Regions from separate parts of the Homo sapiens genome. Here regions 1, 2, 4, 5, 6 and 7 are each linked to region 3. The links are contacts of gene promoters, found by promoter capture Hi-C in human tissues and cell types (Jung and others, 2019). All regions are on one chromosome and are shown on one strand. The core of a region is centred on a gene start or on the middle of the fragment in contact, and the rest is flanking DNA. Distances in the headings are between cores, read along the strand shown. Region 1 has its middle 22 kb from the start of SLC19A1. Region 2 overlaps DIP2A (disco interacting protein 2 homolog A). Region 3 holds the start of COL6A1 (collagen type VI alpha 1 chain). Region 4 overlaps PCNT (pericentrin). Region 5 holds the start of DIP2A (disco interacting protein 2 homolog A). Region 6 holds the start of LINC01694 (long intergenic non-protein coding RNA 1694). Region 7 overlaps PCNT (pericentrin).

Region 1 (3,241 bases), core at 15-2,514, 420 kb before region 3:
TGTGCAGGTGTGAGAGGCAAATACTCAAGGCCAGGGAAAGACCATCAGAAAGAGAAGCAGAAGTGACCCTTAGAGCTCATGCACAGGCAGGAATGTTGCCTGTTCCGCCAGTCAGAGCAGAGATCTCATGGCCCATGGGACGTGGAGTGGAGCACTCAGAAGGCTTTGCCACAGTAGGGGAGATAAACTCGTTCTAGGCTAAAAACTGTTCTGACCTTGCCTGAAACGTTCAAAGCAAGCCTCGGGAGAAACAAACTGTTTCCATGTAACTTAATTGCATTCCAGAACAAAGCTCAAGAATATTTGTAGGAAGACAAAAATGTCAATTATTTAACAAAGTAAACTCAGAATATCTGGCATGCAATCAAAAATTAGTGGGCATGCAAAAAAGAAAAAGAAAACGTAACCCAAAATGAGGATATAAATTAATCCATAGAAACAGATCTAGAAATGACAAAGAAGGTAGATTTAGCAGAAAAGGACATTAAAACAATTATTGTAACTATATTTTTATGTTCAAAATGGTAAAGAAAAGAGTGAGTATTAGGAGGAGACACATTGAAGATTTAAAAAAAAAAACACAAATCAAACTTCTAGAGATGAAAACTACAACGTCTGAGGTGAAAAGTACACTGGATGGGATCCCCGCAGATTAGACATTGAAGAAGAACAGATGCGTGAACCTGAAGACACAGCAACAGCAATAGAGACTGTACAAAATAAAACACACAGAAAAAAATACTTAAAAAATGGACAGAGCATCAGTGAGCTACAGGACAACTTAAAGTGCCCTAATGCGTGTGTAATATTAAGGCACTTTAAGTTGTAAAACAAGGATTTGAACAAGGTAAACCCACAAATCCAAGAATCTCAGTAAACCCCAAGCACAAGAAATATTAAGAAAACAACACCAAGTCACATTATAATCTAACTGCTCAAAACTTGTGTTAAAGAGAAATTTCTTAAAACCAACTAGAGGGAGGGAAAACTTCACATACAGAGGAATGAAGATAAGGATAAGGATGGATTTCTGATTGGAAACAATGCAAGTGAGAAGACCATGGAGCAACCTCTTTAAAGTGCCAACAGATTCTTTTTCTTTTTTTCTTTTTTCTTTTTTTTTTTTTTTTTTGAGACGGAGTCTTACTCTGTTGCCAGGCTGGAGTGCAGTGGTGCGATCTCGGGTCACTGCAACCTCCGCCTCCCAGGTTCAAGCAATTCTCTTGCCTCAGCCTCCTGAGTAGCTGAGTCTACAGGCATGCTCCACCACGCCTGGCTAACTTTTGTATTTTTAGTAGAGATGGGGTTTCACCATGTTGGCTAAGATGGTCTCAATCTCTTGACTTTGTGATCCACCCGCCTCAGCCTCCCAACGTGCTGGGATTACAGGCATGAGCCACTGCGCCCGGCCGAAAGTACCAACAGATTTTTAAAAAGTGTTAGAATTCTATACCCGAGAAAAGCATCTTTTAAAAATGGAGGTGAAATAGACTTTTTTAGGAATCCAAAGACTGAAAGATTTCATCAACAGTAGACAAATGTCATATGACATGTTAAAGGCAGTCGTCGGACAGAAGGACAATCTGAAGCTGGACAAAGGAATAAAAAGTATTGGAAATGGAAAATATGTGGACGAATATTAAAAACTTACTTTTAAAATATCCTTAAAAGATAACCAACTGCTTAAAACGAAAAGAAAAAACCTAATGATGTATTGTGAGGTTTAAAAATGTGTGAGGTTGGCCAGGTACGGTGGCTCACACCTGTAATCCCAGCACTTTGGGAGGCCGAGACGGGCGGATTGCTTGAGCTCAGGAGTTTAAGACCAGCCTGAGCAATGTAGCAAAACCCCATCTCTACAAAAAATACAAACAATTAGCCGGGCATGGTGGCACATGCCATAGTTCCTGCTACTCGGGAGGTTGAGGTGGGAGGACCTCCTGTGCCCGAGAGGTCAGGGTGGCAGTGAGCCATGATCGTGCCATTGCACTCCACAATCCAGCCTGGATGACAGAGTAAGAAAGACCCTGTCTCAAAAAAAAAAAAAGTGTGAGGTTTAAAAACGTGTGAGTTTTAAAAATGTTTGACAACAGCAAAAAAGGTGTGAGAGGGGATGGAAAGATGCTATTTTAATATCACATTACTGCGTAAGTTAAAGATACATACTATTTATCTTAAAGCTACAAATAAAAGAAAAAACAAGAATTATAGCTAATAAGCCAACAAAGAAGATAAATGGAATTAAAAACACAATGCAAAAGAAGGCAGAAAAAAGAAAAAATAACAGATGGAACAAATATAAGAAGAAAAGTAAGATAATAGATTTAAACCCAATCATATTAATAATCACAGTCATGTTCTAATTGCCCAAACAATTCAACTGGGGCAGAGATTATATGATTAGATAAGAAAGCCAGACTCAACTTTATGTTGCTGACAGGGAAAAACACTTTAAATATAAATATATAAAATTGGCTTAAAATCAAAAGATGGAAAAATATATACCATCGCACTATTCAAAAGATGGCCAGAGTGGCTATTACAATATCAAAGTAGATATCAGATAAGTAACATTGTAAGAAATAAAGAGGATTTTTTATAATAATAAAGGGATTAGTTCATCAAGAGATCTTAACAACCCTAACCATGTACGCACCTAATAAAGCTTCAAAATACATGAAGCAGAAACAGCTAGAATGTAAGGAGAAGTACACAAACCAACAATTACAGTCAGAGAGTTCAACACCTCATTTCAATAACTGATAGAACAAATTGATAGACAACTTAGTAAAGGCAGACAAGACTTGAAGGATACTATCAGCCAAATTAATATTTATCAAATATGTCACCCAGCAACAGGAGAATACACATTCTTTTCATCTGTACACAAACAATTTACCAAAATAGGCCGTATTCTGGGTCATAAAACAATTCCCGGCCGGGTGCGGTGGCTCATGCCTGTAATCTCAGCACTTTGGGAGGCTGAGTTGGGTGGATCACGAGGTCAGGAGATCAAGACCATCCTGGCTAACATGGTGAAACCCCGTCTCTCCTAAAAAAATACAAAAAAAATTAGCCGGGCGTGTGGTGGGCACCTGTAGTCCCAGCTACTGGGGAGGCTGAGGCAGGAGAATGGCATGAACCCGGGAGGTGGAGCTTGCAGTGAGCCAAGATCGCACCACTGCACTCCAGCCTGGGTGACAGAGCGAGACTCCGTCTCAAAAAAAAAAAAAAAAAAAAA
Region 2 (3,128 bases), core at 353-2,852, 500 kb after region 3:
GTTGGCCAGGCTGGTCACGAATTCCTGACCTCAGGTGATCCACCTGCCTTGGCCTCCCAAAGTGTTGGGATACAGGCGTGAGCCACCACGCCCGGCCATCTTTCACATTTAGATGCGTAATTCACCTGGAATTTAATTTCATGCGTGGTGTGAGGGAAGAGTGATTTCATTTCTATTGCAGTTGGGTAATCAGTTGACTCAGAACATTTGGAAGAGGCTATCCTTCCCCTGCTGCTTCGGACTGATTTCTGCTGTGTTGTTCTACTTGCTTATCTTAGCACCTGCTCCATTCTGTCTTCATATCTGGTAAAGTCTGCCCTTTTAATTTTATTTTGTTTTTCAAGCTTGATTTAGCTAATCTTGGCCCTTTGTATTTCCCTATATACTTTGGAATCAGCTTGTCAATTTCTATGCAAGAAACTTTCAAGAATTTTTTTTTTTTTTGAGAGGGAGTTTCGCTCTTGTTGCCCAGGCTGGAGTGCAATGGCGCGATCCCGGCTCACAGCAACCTCCGCCTCCTGGGTTCAAGCCATTCTCCTGCCTCAGCCTCCCGAGTAGCTGGGATTACAGGCATGTGCCACCATGCTTGGCTAATTTTGTATTTTTAGTAGAGATAGGGTTTCTCCATGTTGGTCAGGCTGGTCTCGAACTCCGGACCTCAGGTGATCTGCCTGCCTCGGCCTCCCAAAGTGCTGGGATTACAGGCGTGAGCCACCACGCCTGGCAAAACTTTCAAGAATTACTCAGGCTGACTCTTGTGATCCACTTGGAGAGAAATTACACTTCACAGTATTGAGTCTTCAGATTCATGAATGTGGTATATCCTTTCATTTCTTTAGGTCTTTAATTTATCTCAGTAATGTTTTTATAATGTTGTTAGTTTCTGGGTAGTGGTCTTGCACACCTTTCATTAAATTTATTCCTGGATTTGAGATACAGTATTTTTCAGTCCTAGAATTTATGTTTTTTTTTTTAAATTCACAATCCTGCTTTTTAATTCCCTAAACATATTGATTATGGTTATTCTAAAGTTCCATTTTCTATAGCTTTCTATTATTGTTTCTCATGGATTTTAGTCATAGTTTCTTGCTGCCATATGTGCCTAATTACTTCTGATCAAATGCCAGACATTGTCTATATAGTGATCATTTGTGACCACAAAGGGCTTACTTTTGCATCTGGTAGGTAGATAGGTTGGGAATAGATGCAGTCCAAGATCACTTTAATCTATATAGAGAGAAAGTGATTTGAAACTGGCTCCAGTCCTTATGAGTGCTGCTCTATTTTTAGTTCATACCCAAGGTGTGGTCCTTCTGAGTCCCAACAAACAACCTGGGATGCTTTCCAGGGCACCTCGTCCGTGATGAGCTCCTGCCTCTCTGAGTCTGTCCAAGTTCCACTCAGTTCAGCTACTTGGTGATTACTTTTTGACTTCACTTGGCCCTCAGTTCTTCACTTCTGTAATGTCTTCAGATTTAAAGAAAAACTTTAATGTGATCTTTTTAGTTGTTCCCATTGGAAGAGTTGGTCTGAGTGCTATAATTTTGTCAGTGCCATAAATGGAGTTCCTATGTGTGTGTATGTATTCAGTTTAATGAACATATTTTTCATATTTTATTAAAAACTGAGATAAAATATTTACTACACATTTAAAAAGCCCGCTTTTAATTACAAATGAATGAGACAGTGGACATTCAAACACTGCTGTGGAAGCATATCTATACTCTTCAGCGTTAAGCATAATAATTTGCTTATTTTTTTTTAAGGTCTCATTCTGCTATTCAAGCTGGAGTGCAGTGGTGCGATCATAGCTCACCGCAGCCTCGAACTCCTGGGCTCAAGCAATCTTCTCACCTCAGCCTCCCTAGTAGCTTAGGACTATAGGCATGTGCCACCACAGCCAGCTAATTGGTTTTTTTTCTTTTTTTGTAGAGACAGGGTCTCTTTATGTTGCCCAAGGTGGCTTCTAACTCTTGGGCTCAAGCAGTCCTCCCACCTTGGCCTCCCAAAGTGCTGGGATTACAGATGTGAGCCACCATGCTTGGCTGCATAAATAATTTAAATTGCAGTCAGATAGGCTCTACTTTTGTGTATTAGATCTGTATATTTAAGACCCCTGTGTTTGGAAACTTTAAGGCTTGGAAAGTGAAATCTCTACGTGCTTATATTAAGAACGACTGTTACCAGTGAATGGTGCCACCGTGCAAAATATTACTCTTCACAGATTTTCCTCACCTTTTGTTCTGTGTCACGAGCTTGGAGACTGCCTGTATTTTTTTTTTTTTTTGTGTGGCATCTGTTTTCAAGTTTTATTATGGTCAGGTATTGTATTAGTCTGTTCTCATGCTGCTAACAAACACGTAACCGAGACTTGGTAATTTATAAAGGAAAGAGGTTTAATGGACACACAGTTCCACATGGCTGGGGAGGCCTCACAATCATGGCAGAAGATGAAGAAAGCAAAGGGACGTCCTACGTGGTGGCAGGCAAGAGGGCGTGTGCAGGGGAACTGTCCTTTTATAAAACCATCAGATCTTGTGAGACTTACTATCCGGAGAACAGCATGGGGAAAAACCTGCCCCCGTGATTCAGTTACCTCCCACTGGGTCCCTCCCATGACACGTGGGGATTATTACAATTCAAAGTGAGATTTGAGTGGGGAGGACACAGAGCCAGACCATATCAGGTGTGGATCATCCCTCATTTTATTGTTTCCTCCTGCTCTGTGTCGGCACCTCCAGTAGGACCTGTCTAGTCGTGGCAGCTGTGGGCTTTCCCAGCTGCCATGGCACAGAGACCTTGCCTTGGGATCCTGGGTAAGCTTGTGTGGCCCAAGTTGGGACCTAGTGGACTCTTTGGACCCGTTCTTTGGCAGCAAGGGAAAGGCCAATACCTTTCCAAAGGAATAAACACTGGCAGCTGTGTCCAGCTCACTTGGGTCCAAGGTCTCTGGTGTGTATCTGATTTCTGGCTGGTGCCCACCTTGGAGGCGGTAAAAGTGACCTGACCAAAGGCAGACTGTACTGTACTGGATTGGAACCTGCCGGGCCCTTGGGGCTCCCAGCCATTGTGTCATGCCCTGTTGGGGTGCTTCTTCCTTAGCCACACTTGGTCCATTGTGGAGTCAC
Region 3 (3,313 bases), core at 275-2,774:
GTGGGGAAAATATTGAAGGCAATCCAAAAACAGTCACTGTGGAGTTGTGGAATTAAGTATCAATTTTAAAGGTTTTTTCAAATGTTTCTTTAACATGGTTTTTGGTATGAACAATTTGTGTACGTTTTAAAATTATAAGACATTTAGGCTGGTGTTAGGCAAGTCTCAGCAGCTCCAGCTTTGGGAAAGCTCTTCTGGGACCTTCTGTGGGCCAGGGATGCATCTGGCCACATCTGGAGCCCACCCCCAGGTGATATCAGGGACAGCCCCTCTCTCCTCTCTCTGTCTCTCTTTCTGTCTCTCTGTCTCTGTCTCTCTGTCTCTGTCTCTCCGTCTCTGTCTGTCTCTCCTCTCTGTCTCTCTCTGTCTCTGTCTCTCTGTCTCTGTCTTTGTCTCTCTCTGTCTCTCCTCTCTCTGTGTCTCTGTCTCTGTCTCTCTCTCTGTCTCTCTCTGTCTGTCTCTCTGTCTCTCTCTGTCTCTGTCTCTCTCTGTCTGTCTCTGTCTCTCCTCTGTCTCTCTGTGTCTGTCTCTCTGTCTCTGTCTTTCTGTCTCTCTCTCACTGTCTCTGTCTCTCTCTGTCTCTCTGTCTCTGTGTCTCTCTGTCTCTGTCTCTCACTGTCTCTCTCTCTGTCTCTGTCTCTCTGTCTCTCTGTCTCTCTGTGTCTCTCTGTCTCTGTCTCTCTGTCTCTGTCTCTCCTCTGTCTCTCTGTGTCTCTCTCTGTCTTTCTGTCTCTCTGTCTCTCTCTGTCTCTGTCTCTCTCTCTGTCTCTGTCTCTCCTCTGTCTGTGTCTCTGTCTGTCTCTCTGTCTCTGTCTCTCTGTCTCTCTCTCACTGTCTCTCTCTGTCTCTCTGTCTCTGTCTCTCTGTCTCCACACACAGCATATATAACAACTATATTGTGAGCAACTTTGTCTTCCCACGGTACAAACTGAAATATCTTTGGCAAATACGTATCCGACTATACTGTGAAGAAATATTGACGTGAAAAAAGAACGCGGAGATCTGATAAAGCAACAATTCAGCTCACGGCGAGGTCCTCTGCAGGAGGCGGTTGGTGGGAAGAGGCGAGTGAGCCTGCCCGTGCGTCCCGCATGGAGACGTCTGGATTGGAAACTACCGAAAGATGTTTCAAGGAACTCTCCCTGGGTGACACGCTGGTTTTCAGACGTTTGATTCAGCTGCTGCAGTTTCCTCCTCCCTGACACGGGAACTGAACTGCAGGCCGCGGCGAGCCAGCCAGGGAAACCGCCTTCTCCCTGGGCTCGGAGCTGCTGCCGGTTCTGGAGGGAGAGACCCCAGCAAGGAGGTGGTGACTCATGGGCCGCTCCTCCCCGCCCCGCCCCGCCCCTCCCCTCCCGCCCCGCCCCTCCCCTCCCGCCCCTCCCCTCTCCTCCCGCCCCTCCCCTCCCCTCCCCTCTCCTCCCGCCCCGCCCCTCCCCTCCCCTCCCGCCCCTCCCCTCCCCTCCCGCCCCTCTCGCCCCGCCCCTCCCCTCCTTGCCCTCCGCTCTCACTCTGGCTGGGAGCAGAAGGCAGCCTCGGTCTCTGGGCGGCGGCGGCGGCCCACTCTGCCCTGGCCGCGCTGTGTGGTGACCGCAGGCCCCAGACATGAGGGCGGCCCGTGCTCTGCTGCCCCTGCTGCTGCAGGCCTGCTGGACAGCCGCGCAGGATGAGCCGGAGACCCCGAGGGCCGTGGCCTTCCAGGGTGAGTGGTGGCTTGGGGTGCAGGCTCCAGACCCCCCGCTCTTTGCTGCCGGCCAGGGCCAGATGCGCGGGGTCCCCTCCCACGCGTGGAACTGCAGACTGGGGGCCTGGAGCCCCTGAACCCCACTCCCCGCTCGGGGCGGCTGCAGCGCCCAGCTCTGCCCCACCGGGCCTTGGCCGGGGCCCCTAGAGGCTCAGCATTCAGCATTCTCAGCGGGGCCGGACCGCAGGCAGCTCGGGAGGGGCTCCCTGGCGAGGGGGAGCTGGTGCGGGGCTGTCTCGGCGCCCCGTGAATCCGTTTGACCCCTCACCTGGCAGTGAGTCCAGACGCACGGCCCCCCCGACCCCCGTTCTAGAAGAAGTCGTGCGCTGCTGGTTCTGAATCCAGCGAGAAACCTTCCCGTGAGGTCTCACTTGTCCGGTCCCGTGCCGGGGACGCCCTGCCCTTCGGGGGAGGTTGTGAAGGTTTCTGACTCCCCTCGAGGCACAGGAGCGGTTTGGGGTCTCTCACTCCACCCCCTCCCCACCGTCCCCACCGAGGGACGTCCTGCTGCCTTTTCCCGGGAGAGCCTCTCCGGGCCCGGGGCTCTGTGCTGCAGGCGCTGGGCTGGCCGGGAGGGCAGGCCCAGCAGAGACTCGGGGAATGGGGCGAGAGCTTGAAGGCCCCTCTCCTCCATCTTCGGCCAGACTGCCCCGTGGACCTGTTCTTTGTGCTGGACACCTCTGAGAGCGTGGCCCTGAGGCTGAAGCCCTACGGGGCCCTCGTGGACAAAGTCAAGTCCTTCACCAAGCGCTTCATCGACAACCTGAGGGACAGGTAGGAGGGACGCCCCGTGACCTTCCTCCTGTGCTTCTGGGCCTCTTGGAGGGAGGGGTGGGGGCCCAGGGGAACACGGGTGCGACGGCCTCAACCTCCTAAGGTTGGGCGAGCGTTGCCCTGACCGGGGCCCCTCCCGGCGCCCTCCAGAGTGAGGCCGGGGCCCTTTCCGGCGCCCTCCAGAGTGAGCTGGTCTGAGCCTCTCCCAGCGCCTTCCAGAGTGAGCTGGTTTGAGACCCTGCTCGCGGGGGTGGCACCTGTTCAGCAGGGCCGAGGTGACAGTGAGGCTGAGATGTAGGGAAGAGAGGCTCCCGCAGGCTGACCGAGAGGGCTCAGCGCACTGGCCCAGACACGCAGTCCTGCCTGGTGCGCGGGAGCCCCTCACTAACCACCTGGACCCTGGTTTGTTCCGTGGGCAGTGAGAGCCTCTACCTGGGTCCTGGATCCCACGTTCTGAAGGTCCCCGACTCGGGAGCCAGGAGGGGTGTCGCTCTGCAGCCCCAGGGCCCCCAGGCTTGGTTCTGGGCTTGGGACACGGCACCCTCTGCTCCACGTTCCTCCATCTGTGCGTGTGGCTGAGGACAGACCGGGGGGAGAGGGGAGTCGGTCCTGTGGGTGCACAGGGCCGCTGAGGGGGGGGCATGTAGAACGGGGCTCCCCCACTGAGACGGGTCCTGGCAGTGGGGACACAGCTTAGCCGGCGTAGGAACCCCCGTCCTCCTTGACCCTGCTGACTGGCCGCTGGGCCGGAGCCTCCCGCCACCAGAAGGGGCACAGTCAGAGGCTGCCGGTAAC
Region 4 (3,138 bases), core at 68-2,567, 370 kb after region 3:
TTGTTGTTTCACATTGACTTGCATAACACAAAGGCACTGCTCGGCCCCTCCATGCTGTCTTCTGAGTGGCCCCCATGGCCTGCCCCTGAGCTGTGTTCTGGGACACAGCCTCTGCCCTCGTGGATGTGGCAGTTCCCTGCAGTGCATGGGGTGTGGGTGCTGGGGTGCCGGGGAGAATACCACACAGGGAGGAGGTTTTGGGTGGGGTGGGTTGCACCTGCTGTGGGTGGCCTCACTGGGGACCACAGGTAGCAGTGCCCCGTCATTGCCAGGCCCTCCGCTAGAGGGCTGAGCTGTCAGCCATGCTGAGTGTGGAGGCCCTTCCTGAGTCAGGCATCTGGGCAGCTCTCAGGCCCTTGGCAGACGATGGGTGTTAGTCCAGGCTTGGGGTTGTGTTCCGGTCACCTGCTCCTCTGACGCAGGCAGTGAGACCCATTTCTCAGAACACTTGGGACAGAGCCCAGCCCTTGGGTGGAGGTTGGCAAAGTTGCCATTGGCCCCTGGGACTTATAGGGAGATGTATTACTAACGCTTTGAGGGTGACTGTGTGGATTAGGCCTTGCGTGCAGAGGCTCGTCTGTTTCGGGGTGGGTGGTCCTTGTGCAGAGGCTGGTCTGTTTCAGGGTAGGTGGTCCTCTCGCTTTGTGCAGATGCAGGTCTGTTTTGGGGTGGATGGTCCCTGTGCAGAGGCTGGTCTGTTTCAGGGTGGGTTGTCCCTGTGCAGAGGCTGGTCTGTTTCAGGGTGGGTGGTCCTCGTGTGCAGATGGCAGTCTGTTTTGTGGTGGGTGGTCCTTGCTCACTTTTCCTCAACTGCTTGCCTCCTGGATGCTTCTGCTTTTCTGTCCTGCCAGCATTCAGGGGAGAGACTGGGTGTAAGGCCTGTCAGGACAGTTTAGTTGGGGGCCATGACTGCCCATTCTTTTTTTTCTTTGAGACAGGGTCTCATTCTGCCTCCCAGGCTGGAGTGCAGTGGCACAATCACAGCTCACTGCAGTCTTGACCTCCTGGGCTCAATTGATCCTCCTGCCTCAGCCTCCCGAGTAGCTGGGACTATAGTTGCATGCCACCACATCCCACTAATTTTTGTATTTTTTTTTTTGTAGAGATGGGGTCTCACTATGTTGCCCGGGCTGGTCTGTAACCCTAACTCCTGGGCTCAGGCGATCTGCCTGCCTCAGCCTCTCAAAGTGCTGGGATTAGAGGCATGAGCCACGTTGCCTGGCCTGCTCAGAGGTTTTGACTGTGTGATTTAAATTTCTTTAGCACAGATAATCAACTATTGAGTTTAATTTTTTTTTCTTTTAAATTAGACCCTGAAGGAAGATTGGGAATCTGAAAAAGATTTATGTTTAGAAAATCTACGCAAAGAACTGTCTGCAAAGCATCAATCAGAAATGGAGGATTTACAAAACCAGTTTCAGAAAGAATTGGCAGAACAGAGAGCTGAGTTGGAGAAGATTTTTCAAGACAAAAACCAGGCTGAACGTAAGTAATGAAAATGAGCAAGTTTGGAGTGGGACTGAATTTTCCTAGGTAGTACTGGAAGGAATGTCGTTCATGTCACCATGCGTCATTGCGCACGTTTCCTACCTTCTAAATGCTGGATGGCCCCATGCACGTGTGACACGCTGGTGGCCGTCATGGGTCACAGGTCTCTCAGGGTCCTTAAACCTTCCTGATCTTTGTTTCAGAGATTTTTCTTGGCATGTTCAGTTGCTAAATTATTACAAAGCAGCAGCTTTGTGGTTGTTCACTTTTCATACTCCAGGGTTGTGTGTTCCAGCTTGACCCTCATGGTGGGTGGCATGGGTAGGCGATGTCCCCTGGTGCTATCAGGCATGTGAGGCTCAAACGAGGGGCCCGGGGGCGCCCAGGATGGGGCTCTGGGTGGCAGCGCTCTGGGTGCACCATTATTGTCACTGAGGTCGCTGTTGAGGAGAGTGATGTCTTGTAAACCAAGTGCCATTGCTTTACCTTTCTAGGGGCCCTTAGGAACCTGGAGAGTCATCATCAAGCAGCCATTGAGAAGTTACGTGAAGACCTGCAGTCCGAGCACGGCCGGTGTTTAGAAGACTTGGAGTTCAAGTTCAAAGAGAGCGAGAAAGAAAAACAGCTGGAGGTGGGCAGCAGCTTCGTTATTTAATTACTTGGTATATTAGGGAAGTTTTAACAGATTTTGGAATTGGGCTATTTCGTATTGTGTTATTTGCTAAAACTTAAGTTCTAAATTTAAAGAGACTGGCTGGGAACAGTGGTTCACGCCTGTAACTCTATCACTTTGGGAGGCCAAGGTGGGCAGATCATGAGCTCAGGAGTTTGAGACAAAAATTAGCCAGGCATGGTGGTGGGCATCTGTAATCCCAGCTACTCGGGAGGCTGAGGCACGAGAATCGCTTGAACCTAGGAGGTGGAGGTTGCAGTGAGCTGAGATCTCACCACTGCACTCCATCCTGGGCAACAGCGAGCCTCCGTCTCAAAAGCAAATAAATAAAATAAAATGAAATAAAAAAATAAATAGAGTGTTAGTGGTGAATAAAAGTGTAAGGATATAGTCTCTGAGACTGATTTAATAATTACGTTCAATCTTGTACTTAGGAATGCATGTTCTTTGCAGGCGTCCCTGAGACAGTTACACAAATCGCAGACACTAGGTAGGAGTGTAAGGCCACATCCTCTAACCGTGATCCAGTACACACGAGATTCCTAGGAAAAGTTAACAAGCATTTCTTTCTGCTGTGTGTATTCAAGATGCTTCTCTAATGAAGCACTACAATCAAAATGTTGATGTGGCCAGGTCCTCATTGGAGGCCTGACAAACCTGAGACTCAAACTGAGTATCCCAAGAATCAGTTGAAGAAATTAAAGCATAAATCAGAGATAGGGTTAATCGTGGTGTGTGAAAGATTTACAAACATGAGAATATGGAAGTAGTTGGGGTCTAGGGTCTTAGGGAGGCCTGTCCTGGGCCCCTTGTGTCTCCCAGCGGGACTCTGGTGCCCACACACCCTCCTCTCCTGCAGAGAGTCCAGGCCGGGGCTCACTCCACACCCCCAGTCTCTCCCTGGTCCCTTCCAGGCTCTCCCTCCGAGATGGGAAAGAGGGGGCTGGTAGCATCTTCTGGTCCTGATGCCCATGATT
Region 5 (3,503 bases), core at 359-2,858, 480 kb after region 3:
TGGAGTGCAGTCACAGCTCACTACAGCCCTGACTTCCAGGGCTCAGGTGATCCACCCACCTTAGCCTCCCAAGCAGCTGGGACCACAGCCGTGGCCACCATGCCCGGCTAATTTTTTGTGTTTTCAGTAGAGATGGGGTTTTGTCATGTTGCCCAAGCTGGTCTTGAACTCCTGAACTCAAGCAATCTTCCCGCCTTGGCCTCCCAAAGTGCTGGGATTACAGGTGTGAGCCACTGTGCCCAGCCTCATCTTTTCTTAGCAGGGATCCAAACTTAGTGGAAGAGTATTGCCTTGTTTGGGTGTTTTGCTATTTTTGGAGTTCAGTCAAACAGGGATGTTAATTCCTGGGCCTGGTTCTTGTCTTTGACCTGCTGCAGTAAATGAAGCTTCTCTATATGTAACGGGACAGATTCACTGGCTTACAACTGTTTGTTGCTTGCCTTCAGCTGACCACTATTCTTAAGAGTCTCGGTTGGCACTAAGCAATAGCTATCCAATCCCCCTTTCCTTCCTTTTATCTACTACGTTCACCATATATGAAATGTCTGATACTTCACCCACTCGTGGATTCCATTTCACTAGTTCACCCTCCTACTTCACCACTGGTGAGTGATGCAGCCTCGAATCCCATCTTCTCACCAGCTTTAATGCTGCAGAATGGTTTCTCCAGAAGCAGACGCTGCGACTGAGTTTGGGGTACGAGGATGTTGACATGGTATCAACACCCGTGAAAGGAAGGGGAAGGAAGCAGGACTGGGCGGAGGAAGAAGGGTATGTAAGTCCCGCAAAGCTTTGGCCAACCTCGTGTGGAGCTCTGGAACGAGAACTGCTGAAGTTCGCCAGACTCGGGCACTCCTGCCTAACTCAGTAACAGGCGGGCGGCATCGGGACACGGACACGCTGCTCAGGCCCCGCCACAGCCACCCTCGCACCGTCAGACACACTCCCACACATTCGGGGAGCAGGGCCTTCAGGACGCCGGCGGCGCCCTCTCAGTCTAGCTCCGCCAGGCCCCTCGTCCGTCCTCCCGCCCTCCAAGGTCACCTCGCGGTCCGACATGGCTGCTGGGGCTCCTTCGGGGCCAACGATGTGTACTTCTAGGGCTGTTTTTTAAAGCAAAGGAGTGAACACAGGTAAAGGCACGAGAAAGGTGCCTCGACGCCACCACGGACTGCGCAGCGTTCGCGATCAGCACAGCCCGAAAGGGAAGACAGCGGTCAACGCGGACGCGCCATGGCGCGGGGACCAAGGAGGAGCCCCGAGAGGGGCGGGGCTGGCCGGAGGGCCGCGCGCGGGGCCACCAGCGGCGCCTAGGGGTCAGCGCCAACGCCCACGGGTTGGTCATCCCCACTTAGGCGCCTCGGGCCGCAACTAAGCAGCCTGCCCGCCTCAAGCCCGCCACCCTCAAGCAGGCCCAGCGCAGAGCCTGTCGGGAGCGGCGCTCTCCCGCCTCTCCCAATGGGAGCCCGGAGCGGCATCGACGCGTCTTCGGGGCCAATGGAAGCGAGGCTCTGGTGTTGCTGGGCGGGGCCGGGAGGGCTGCGCGGGCCCGAGACCCACTGCGCACGCGCGCTCGCTACCCGCCCTTCCCGCCGCGCACGCGCTCCCGTGTAGGGCCGGCCGGGCGCTCAGGAGCGCGCGGGGCAGCGGCGGCGCGGCGGAGCCATCCGCGCTCGTGCCCGCGCGGGTGCGTTGCTGTCCTGGCCGCGCCCCTGTCCCGCCGCCTCCCGCTCCTCGCCTGGCGGATGTAGGTTGTTGGCCTGAGGGGAGCTACGTAGCCGAGGTTTGCGCTGCCGCCGCCAGGCCCGGTCCGGTTCCAGCCTCTGCCCGGACGCTAGCCGGCCTGGCCATGGCTGACCGCGGGTGCCCGCTGGAGGCGGCGCCGCTGCCTGCCGAGGTGCGGGAGAGCCTGGCTGAGCTGGAGCTGGAGCTGTCGGAAGGTGAGCCGGACCCCGCCCTCAACCCCCGCGACCCGCCCTCAGCCCGGTCCCCCGCGCAGCCCCTCACTCCGGGACCCCCGCGCGGCCCCTCACTCCAGGACCCCCGCCCTTCACCCCCGGGACCCCCACGCGGCCTCGCCCCTGGGACCTCTGCCCCTCAACGGGACCCCGGTTCCTCTACCCTGGAACCCGCCCCTCGCCCCGGAGACACCGTTCCTCAACCCTAGGACCCCGCCCCTCATGTGGGACCCCAGCACGACCCCTCGCCCCGAGACCCCGGCCCCTTACCCCCGGGAACTCCCGCCCCTCACCCCCGGGACCTCCTGCCCCTCACCCCCGGAACCCCGCGCGGCCCCTCACCCCGGGGACCCCGCCCTTCACCCTGGGAGCCCCGCGCTGCCCCTCCGGACTCCCGACCCTCAGCCCCGGGACACCCGCGCGGCCCCTCAAACCAGGGACCACTGCCCCGCCTCTCATACAAGGACCCCTCCCCCATACAAGGACTCCTCCCCCCAGGCCCTTCACACCTGGGACCCTTACTCCTCACCCCGGGACGCCTGCCAAACTTCTGGAGACCTTTCCCTATCCCCAGCTGCTCCCCCAATGGGATCCGACCCCAAGGACTGGCTTTGACTAGGTCGTTTGGACAGGTGTGAGAATCTTGAGAGGAATGACCACTTTTGCCCCAAGCTGTGAGCCCCGCTTTTCTCAAGGCTGTAGGTCTGGGCTTGGTCTGGGCTTCACCAGGATGACTGCGCCCGTTGTCCGCAGGCAGCTACTTCCCTTGGAGCTGGGAGCCCTTGCCGCGCGCCTCATACTCTAGGAGCTGCACCCTGTGCCTCATTTTATTATCTATAAAGTGGGGTTATACCAGCACTTTCCATTTTGGATTGTTATGAGGCTAAAATACCTTAATATATGCAAAGCACATAACACTTAGGAGTTGTTAGCCCCCTCATGGAATTTTTTAAAGTAAAAAAAAAAAGTCGTATAAATGGTTGGTTGATAAAAATAGACTGGAGTAATCTGGCTTCAGAGGTGGTGGGTGGCATTTCCCATTTGGATGTTATCCCTTTCAAGGCCTGTGTCCTGATATTCCTTTTGGCTGTCTTTGGGAAAGAGTTAAGTTCTTCTCCAGTGTCAGAAAGGACTTGCAGTCCTTGAAGAAAAGCATGTAATTGATTCTTACTCTGTTTTTGAGATCTAAATGCATTTTCAGCTTTTAGAATCCATTTTTTAAATAATCTTATTATCCTTAATTTAAGTTTCAGATTGATAAGATTTTGCTGGGTCTGGGGTAGTTATTTCTCAAAACATCTAAATAATATGCACTAGCATACAGTAAGTCATTTAATCCTTGCCAACCTTAGGGAGGTAGATGCTGTTGTGATCTTGTTTTACATATAATACAACATGTACTTGCAACTATTTTGAATTCAGCATTCAGATTTTTAACAATGTTGTGACATGTGGCACATTTTTTTTTTTTGAGACGGAGTCTTGCTCTGTTGCCCAGGCTGGAGTGCAATGGCGTGATCTCGGCTCACTGCAACCTCTGCCTCC
Region 6 (3,091 bases), core at 444-2,943, 390 kb before region 3:
ATACACAGGTACACACAACACTCCATATGGACACACACACAGAGATACATACTACACATAGACACACACCATGCACAAACCACACACACATGCAACACTCCACAGACATACACACAGATACACAGATACACCACGCCACATAGACACACCATCACACCACACACACAAAACACATCACATAGAGACACACACCACACACATACAAGATGCCACATAGATACACCACACACAAACCACACACACACACCTCATAGACACACAAACCATGCACACTATGCACAAACCACACACACGCATACATACCCACAACACACCACATACACACCATGCATACCACACCCACACTCCACATAGACACACAAACCACGCACACATACATACACACAACACACCATATGCACAAATCACGCACCAGCCACACACACAACAGGCCACATAGACACACACAACACGCACACCACACACACAAAACACTCCACATCGACACACAACTCACGCACAAACCACACACACACAACATGCCACATAGGCACACACACCACGCACACCACACACACACAAAACACTCCATGTCGACACACAAATCACACACAAACCACACACACAAAACACTCCACATAGACACACATACCATGCACACCACCCACACACAAAAAAACACACCACATAGACGTGTTAGGTAGTTAGACACACATCAGCAGCTGGGAGAGGGTAAAAAGGAGAACAGAGAAGCTGTCATTAAGCCCCTGGCCCACCTAAGTTCAGCCCCGAGCCCGCCCTAACTCCACCATGAGGGACGGAGTTTGAAGTGAAACCTGTGGCCAGCATGTCCTGTGGAAGGGGAAACCAGGGCACAGGTAGAAATCCCTAGAGCAGCATGTGCCCAGTGACCTAAAACTGTAATAACATTTACATGTGGCCCCCCCACACTGGGCTTTTCTTAATGAATTATGGGTAAAAATATGCACAGTTTAATTTTAGCTGTGTCACCATAAGCTGCCAAATGACATCAGCCTGTCACTCAGCCCAAACCTCAGCTACTTCTCACACCCCACAGAAGCACCTTGAGCTCTGTAACCAGGTGCTGATGTCACTTCTCAGAAATCAGCCTGCACACCCTCTGAGACAGTATTACTGGAAATTTCAATCAACCTTGTTTTAAGCTTACATTTTGGTGTTTGCAGTTCTTTGCTCACTGTCACAAGAACCCAGATTGCTGGTTCAGAGCTCTGGCTCTGTGGATCTTGTCGGTTAAAAAATCCATCCGAACACAGAATTCTCGGTAACACACACACAATACACCAGGTGGACATACAACACACACATGCACAAGGATGTTCACGATGACAGTGCTTGAAATAGAGGAAAACAATGCGTCCACATTTCCGTCAGTCAACCGTGGCCCGCCTATGGCCACCCGTCCATAGGGTCTGGATGAGGTCAAACGGGGGCCCCGTCAACAGCACAAGAAAATCATCAGCCAATTTTGCTTGGGAACAAGGGTGCAAAAATCTAAACTTACAGAAATCACTACACAAATCTGACAGTGATTTAAAGATAACACCCGGTGATCAGATAGGAGTGCAGGAGTGCAGAGCGGGCTGACAGGGAAACCTGCGCCTGTTGAGGCAGGAAAATTGGGTCTGGAGGCAGGGAGCATAAGGCAGTTCACACTTCAGCTACCACAGGAAATATCCTCTCCATAGGGCATGGGCCAAGTAAATGACTTTGTAACTTCACTTCATCCTCTCCAGTTACATAGGGTGTACCCCCAAGAAGCCCCATGGCGCCATCACTCCACGGCCCCATCACCCCACGGCCCCGTCGCCCCACGGCCTCGTCGCCCCACAGCCCCGTCGCCCCACGGTCCCATCACCCCATGGCCCCGTCATTTCAGCACTGGCGGCTGCTCTGCCCTGGGATGCGCCTGTCACGTGCAGTGATTTAAACATCAGTGAGGTGATTGATTCAAATACTGCGTACTCTTGCTAGTATTTTCCTTGCATGCTGATATGGTTTGGCTGTGTCCCCACCTAAATCCCAACTTGAATTGTATCTCCCAGAATTCCCACGTGTTGTGGGAGGGACCCAGGGGGAGGTAATTGAATCACGGGGACCGGTCTTTCCTGTGCTATTCTCGCCAGAGTGAATAAATCTCACGAGATCTGATGGGCCTATCAGGGGTTTCTGCTTTTGCTTCTTCCTCATTTTCTCTTGCTGCCGCCATGATTCTGAGGCCTCCCCAGCCATGTGGAACTGTAAGTCCAATTAAACCTTTTTTTCTTCCCAATCTCGGGTATGTCTTTGTCAGCGGCATGAAAAGGGACTAATACACATGCTTTATTGGTGACCAGGAGATGTTTTAAATTTTTCTATATGATTGTGGATTTCTCTTCTTCTTTCTTGGACTCTGCAACTTTGTTTTCTGTAGTTTGAGGCTGGCATCTTCCCGTGGGCTGGGCCCCATGCCACCAGCTGACCCTGGTCTGCTGAGCTCCTTGCCCGTGGTTCCTCTGCTTGGTGTTAATGCAGCCACCCCAGCTTTCCAGACCTCCCTTTCCATTTATCTTTCTGTGGCCTTACATTGAGGGTGTGTCTCCTGCAGGATCCAGTGTATCTTTATCTTTGAATTGAACTTTCTGGTTCTTTTGTTTTGATTCCATTATCTGCGTTTGAATTCTGGCATTATGAATTGTTTTCTGTTTTTCCTACTTGTTCCCTGTTCCTTCTTCTCCTCGTGGCTTCGATTATTTTTTATTCCATGTTTATCCTCTCTTAGCCTGCCAGTTATGAATTACTGTTCATTCAGTAGTTATCCATGTTAAAGTCCAGTGTAAATTCTTCCTGCTATCTCTTACCAGACCACCAAAGATTTACATCACCCCTTTATTCCATCCCACCCTTTGTTCTGTTGTTCTTATGTATTTTAACTCTACTTGCATGTCAAACTCTGGAAATCACTATTGTTATTATTTTCTTTTTCATTTTTTCGGGTCTTGCTCTGTCACCCAGGCTGGAGTGCAGTGGCACCGTCACAGGTCACTGCAGTCTCCAACTCCCAGGCTCTACCAATCCTCCCACCTCAGCCTCC
Region 7 (3,097 bases), core at 474-2,973, 460 kb after region 3:
CCTTTAGGGACCTGGGGATGTGGGCGTCACCTTCTCCCTAACCGCCAGGCTCTGTTGCCTCTGTCTGAAGCCTTGCTAAATGTTGTGGGATGTTTGAACATCTCAGCCGACTTCCAGCTCCGCCACAGACGGCGTCCTCACTGACCCTGACCGCTACTTGATGTTTGGTGCATGTTCATAAAAGGGTATTTTGACTAAGAATATTATAATCTGATCTAATTTAGAGTTTTAGTTAAAGTGATTTATAATTTTTTTTTTTTTTTTTTTTTGAGACCGAGTCTTGCTCTGTTGCCCAGGCTAGAGTGCAGTGGTGCGATCTCAGCTCACTGCAACCTCCACCTCCCAGGTTCAAGCAATTCTCCTGTGTCAGCCTCCCAAGTAGCTGAGATTACAAGTGCCCGCCACCACACATGGCTAATTTTTATATTTTTAGTAGAGATGGGGTTTTGCCATGTTGGCCAGGCTGGTCTCAAAATCCTGACGTGATTCCGCCCACCTCAGCCTCCCAAAGTGCTGGGATTACAGACATGAGCCACCGTGCCCGGCCTAAAGTGACTTATAATTTTCATAATGGTATAGTTGGATAGAGTTATCTTCCGGAATGTCTCATTTTTTTTTCTTTTGTATTTAGGCTATTTTGTTTGTGATTTGCTTTATTTTTTATAACTTTTTAAAAATTATTTTTAAATTTACATACAGTAAAATTTGCCCTTTCCTGGTGTAGTGTCATACAAGTTCACACACACACACATCCCTGTAACCTTCATAAGTAACCACCATTCACAGAGCACACAGCGATGGCCCCCCCAAAAAGAGCAGCAGGCATCTCCGCCTGCCACAGGCCCTGGCTCTCTCCCAGAAAGGTGTGTCAGTGGAACCAGCCCGTCTGGGACCTCCTAAACTGGCTTTTTTCACTTTTTGGGTTTTTTTTCTGAGACAGGGCCTTGCTGCATCTCCCAGGCTGGAGTGCAGTGGAGCAGTCACAGCTCACTTCAGCCTTGACCTCCCAGGTTCAGGGATCCTCCTGCCTCAGCCTCCTGACCTGCAGTGGTGTCAGCAGCAACCTGTGCACGTCCTCCCGTACACTCTTAAGTCATCTCTAAGATCACTTGCAGCACCTCATTCAGTGTAAATGCCACGTAAATAGTTGTCATCCTGTATTGTTTAGGGTGTAGGGGCAAGAAAAGAAGCACACGTTTGGTACAGACACATCGTTTTTTCTGAATATTTTTCACCCACAGTTGGTTGAATCCATGGATGTGGAACCCACAGCTGTCGAGAGTTGACTGTGCTTGTAGTTACCAGTGGTTGGCATTTCTAGGACCGGAGAATATGAGAGTGTTTAAGGCTTAAAGCTTTGAATTTGGGGTGATTTTACAAAGAATTGGTTTTCTGTTTCTGTTAAAATGTACCTTTTTTGCAATCATACTTCAGCAAGTGGCATGTCGTAATTACTCCATGTTAATTCTTTGGCTGATCACAGCACGGCGTAACCTAGGCCCTGCTGAGGGGGTGCTGAAGTTGAGGAGGGGCCAGGTGTGGTGTGGTCAGCCTGGCCTCCCCGCACATGGCCTTCTCCCTCACCTGCCCCCGGCTGCGTCTCTAAGATGCTCTTGTTGACGAGCAGCTCTGTAGACAGCGCTGGCTGTGCTTCCTTACAGAGGTCGGAAAGGTCTGCTTGGAAGCCAGACGAAACGGCTCCACAGAGTTCCCTGAGGCGCCCAGACCCCGGCCGGCTTCCACCAGCTGCCAGCGAGGAAGCACACACCAGCAATGTCAAGGTAGGAACGGTGCCACGAGTATAGAACTTTGGTGCTTTTTTAAGTCCTGGGTTTGCAAATTGCAGGCAAAGCATTTTTGTGACCACAAGGTTCTCGTCTGCCGGGTGTAGCAGTCACATCACTAAAGGAAAGGACGTTCACAGAATAAACTTCGGCTTGAATTTTGTTTTAATTGTGCACAAATACTGAGTTTCTGTGCTTGTTAAGCGTGGAACGTGGAAGGCTTTGACAAAGTCAGCAAATGGCGGCCTCTGCAGCCTGAGGGAGGCCTGGCCCAGGGGCTTGCCGGGATTCGGCCCAAGATCTGCTGCAGTCTCCTGATGGCACACGGTCCCCACCCCGTGACGTCCATCTCATGCCCAGTTTGGACCTTACCTAAGGGGTGAAATGCAAGAAGCTTCATAGGGGCTCATTTGATGATGCTGTGGAGAGGAGCTTGTGGTCCTAGATCTTGTCTGACAAACACAAATTGATCTTCCAACAGCAAGGTTGTTTCTGGCCACAGATACTGTTGGAAGGCCGATGGCTCTGTGATGATTTGATGGGAAAAAACAATCTGACTCTTTGGAAAGAGCAATGGTGTTAATGTGCTTTTGTCAGCAAGACAGTCTTTGTTTCCTATGATAAAATTTTACTGCTTTTTTTCTTTTAGATGGAAAAATTGTACCTGCATTACTTGAGAGCAGAGAGCTTTAGAAAAGCTCTGATTTATCAAAAGAAGTATCTTTTGCTGTTGATTGGTGGATTCCAGGATTCTGAACAAGAAACACTCTCCATGATTGCCCATTTGGGGGTATTTCCTTCCAAAGCAGAACGGAAAATCACATCTCGTCCTTTCACCAGGTTCCGCACGGCCGTCAGGGTGGTCATTGCAATATTAAGGTAAATGCCATGACGTTCAGTCAGTGCGTTCCGCGTCTGTCTCCGTGAGTGGGCAGCACACTGCATGGTTTTTTGGTCATTTTATTCCTTGAAACTCCATAATATGTTCTTTTTAAAGATGAATGGCATTTGAGGCCTTAGAGAAAATACAGATGATGAACTTGTCTTCAAGAAGTCATGTGTATGAATCTCTCACCTTCTAAAACTAAAGATTTAAGGGCACCTTTGTATTACAGAGGAACATCTTGACTTTTAATGGGTTTCGTGCCACAAAGAACGTGCTGAATTTCTAAAACTGTTTTTCCCCCTAAACACTGTGCGGCTGTGCCTGCTCCCTGATGCCACAGAGGTGTTTCCCAAGGCCACGCGCGGGCCTGTCTGGAGTAGCAGATGCAGCAGAGAGCAGCTAGGAATCCCGCTCCTTTCAGAGACCA

The links. Contacts are between HindIII fragments. The study calls those that stand out against the background at their distance.
Region 1: a fragment that was not itself captured here is called in contact with the fragment with the promoter of COL6A1 in region 3 in 1 of the 25 tissues and cell types used here (IMR-90 fibroblasts).
Region 2: a fragment that was not itself captured here is called in contact with the fragment with the promoter of COL6A1 in region 3 in 1 of the 25 tissues and cell types used here (lymphoblastoid cells).
Region 4: a contact is called between a fragment that was not itself captured here and the fragment with the promoter of COL6A1 in region 3, in 3 of the 25 tissues and cell types used here (H1 embryonic stem cells, lymphoblastoid cells and mesenchymal stem cells).
Region 5: the fragment with the promoter of DIP2A here is called in contact with the fragment with the promoter of COL6A1 in region 3 in 2 of the 25 tissues and cell types used here (IMR-90 fibroblasts and lymphoblastoid cells).
Region 6: a contact is called between a fragment that was not itself captured here and the fragment with the promoter of COL6A1 in region 3, in 2 of the 25 tissues and cell types used here (H1 embryonic stem cells and lymphoblastoid cells).
Region 7: a contact is called between a fragment that was not itself captured here and the fragment with the promoter of COL6A1 in region 3, in 1 of the 25 tissues and cell types used here (mesendoderm cells).

The regions. Positions count from the first base shown.
Region 1 is chr21:45,562,959-45,566,199 of GRCh38, forward strand. It overlaps a transcript of SLC19A1 not described here. Among named protein-coding and RNA genes, the nearest start is that of SLC19A1, 22 kb to the left of the region's middle. The HindIII fragment of the contact is 6,356 bases long and covers 1-3,241 here.
Region 2 is chr21:46,477,786-46,480,913 of GRCh38, forward strand. The region is part of intron 1 of DIP2A (disco interacting protein 2 homolog A); the gene reads left to right. Among named protein-coding and RNA genes, the nearest start is that of DIP2A-IT1, 17 kb to the left of the region's middle. The HindIII fragment of the contact is 3,471 bases long and covers 1-3,128 here.
Region 3 is chr21:45,980,246-45,983,558 of GRCh38, forward strand. It overlaps COL6A1 (collagen type VI alpha 1 chain), which reads left to right and starts at 1,525. Exons shown (of 35, transcript NM_001848.3): 1 at 1,525-1,702; 2 at 2,389-2,518. The coding sequence starts at 1,606. It overlaps LOC105372841 (a long non-coding RNA gene), which reads left to right. Exons shown (of 3, transcript XR_937803.3): 3 at 1,045-1,321. RefSeq lists enhancers at 1,283-2,145, 2,146-3,006. The HindIII fragment of the contact is 42,283 bases long and covers 1-3,313 here.
Region 4 is chr21:46,347,702-46,350,839 of GRCh38, forward strand. PCNT (pericentrin) reads left to right here. Exons shown (of 47, transcript NM_006031.6): 7 at 1,311-1,485; 8 at 1,983-2,119. Among named protein-coding and RNA genes, the nearest start is that of PCNT, 25 kb to the left of the region's middle. The HindIII fragment of the contact is 7,749 bases long and covers 1-3,138 here.
Region 5 is chr21:46,457,283-46,460,785 of GRCh38, forward strand. It overlaps DIP2A (disco interacting protein 2 homolog A), which reads left to right and starts at 1,609. Exons shown (of 38, transcript NM_015151.4): 1 at 1,609-1,940. The coding sequence starts at 1,850. LOC124905046 (a long non-coding RNA gene) reads right to left here and starts at 1,431. Exons shown (of 2, transcript XR_007067915.1): 1 at 1,045-1,431. RefSeq lists enhancers at 823-962, 2,733-2,802 and silencers at 1,203-1,752, 1,943-2,012. The HindIII fragment of the contact is 5,308 bases long and covers 589-3,503 here.
Region 6 is chr21:45,591,451-45,594,541 of GRCh38, forward strand. LINC01694 (long intergenic non-protein coding RNA 1694) reads left to right here and starts at 2,204. Exons shown (of 2, transcript NR_146912.1): 1 at 2,204-2,258. The region is part of intron 1 of LOC107985485 (a long non-coding RNA gene); the gene reads right to left. The HindIII fragment of the contact is 4,545 bases long and covers 1-3,091 here.
Region 7 is chr21:46,438,422-46,441,518 of GRCh38, forward strand. It overlaps PCNT (pericentrin), which reads left to right. Exons shown (of 47, transcript NM_006031.6): 42 at 1,662-1,781; 43 at 2,434-2,663. Among named protein-coding and RNA genes, the nearest start is that of DIP2A, 19 kb to the right of the region's middle. The HindIII fragment of the contact is 3,958 bases long and covers 1-3,097 here.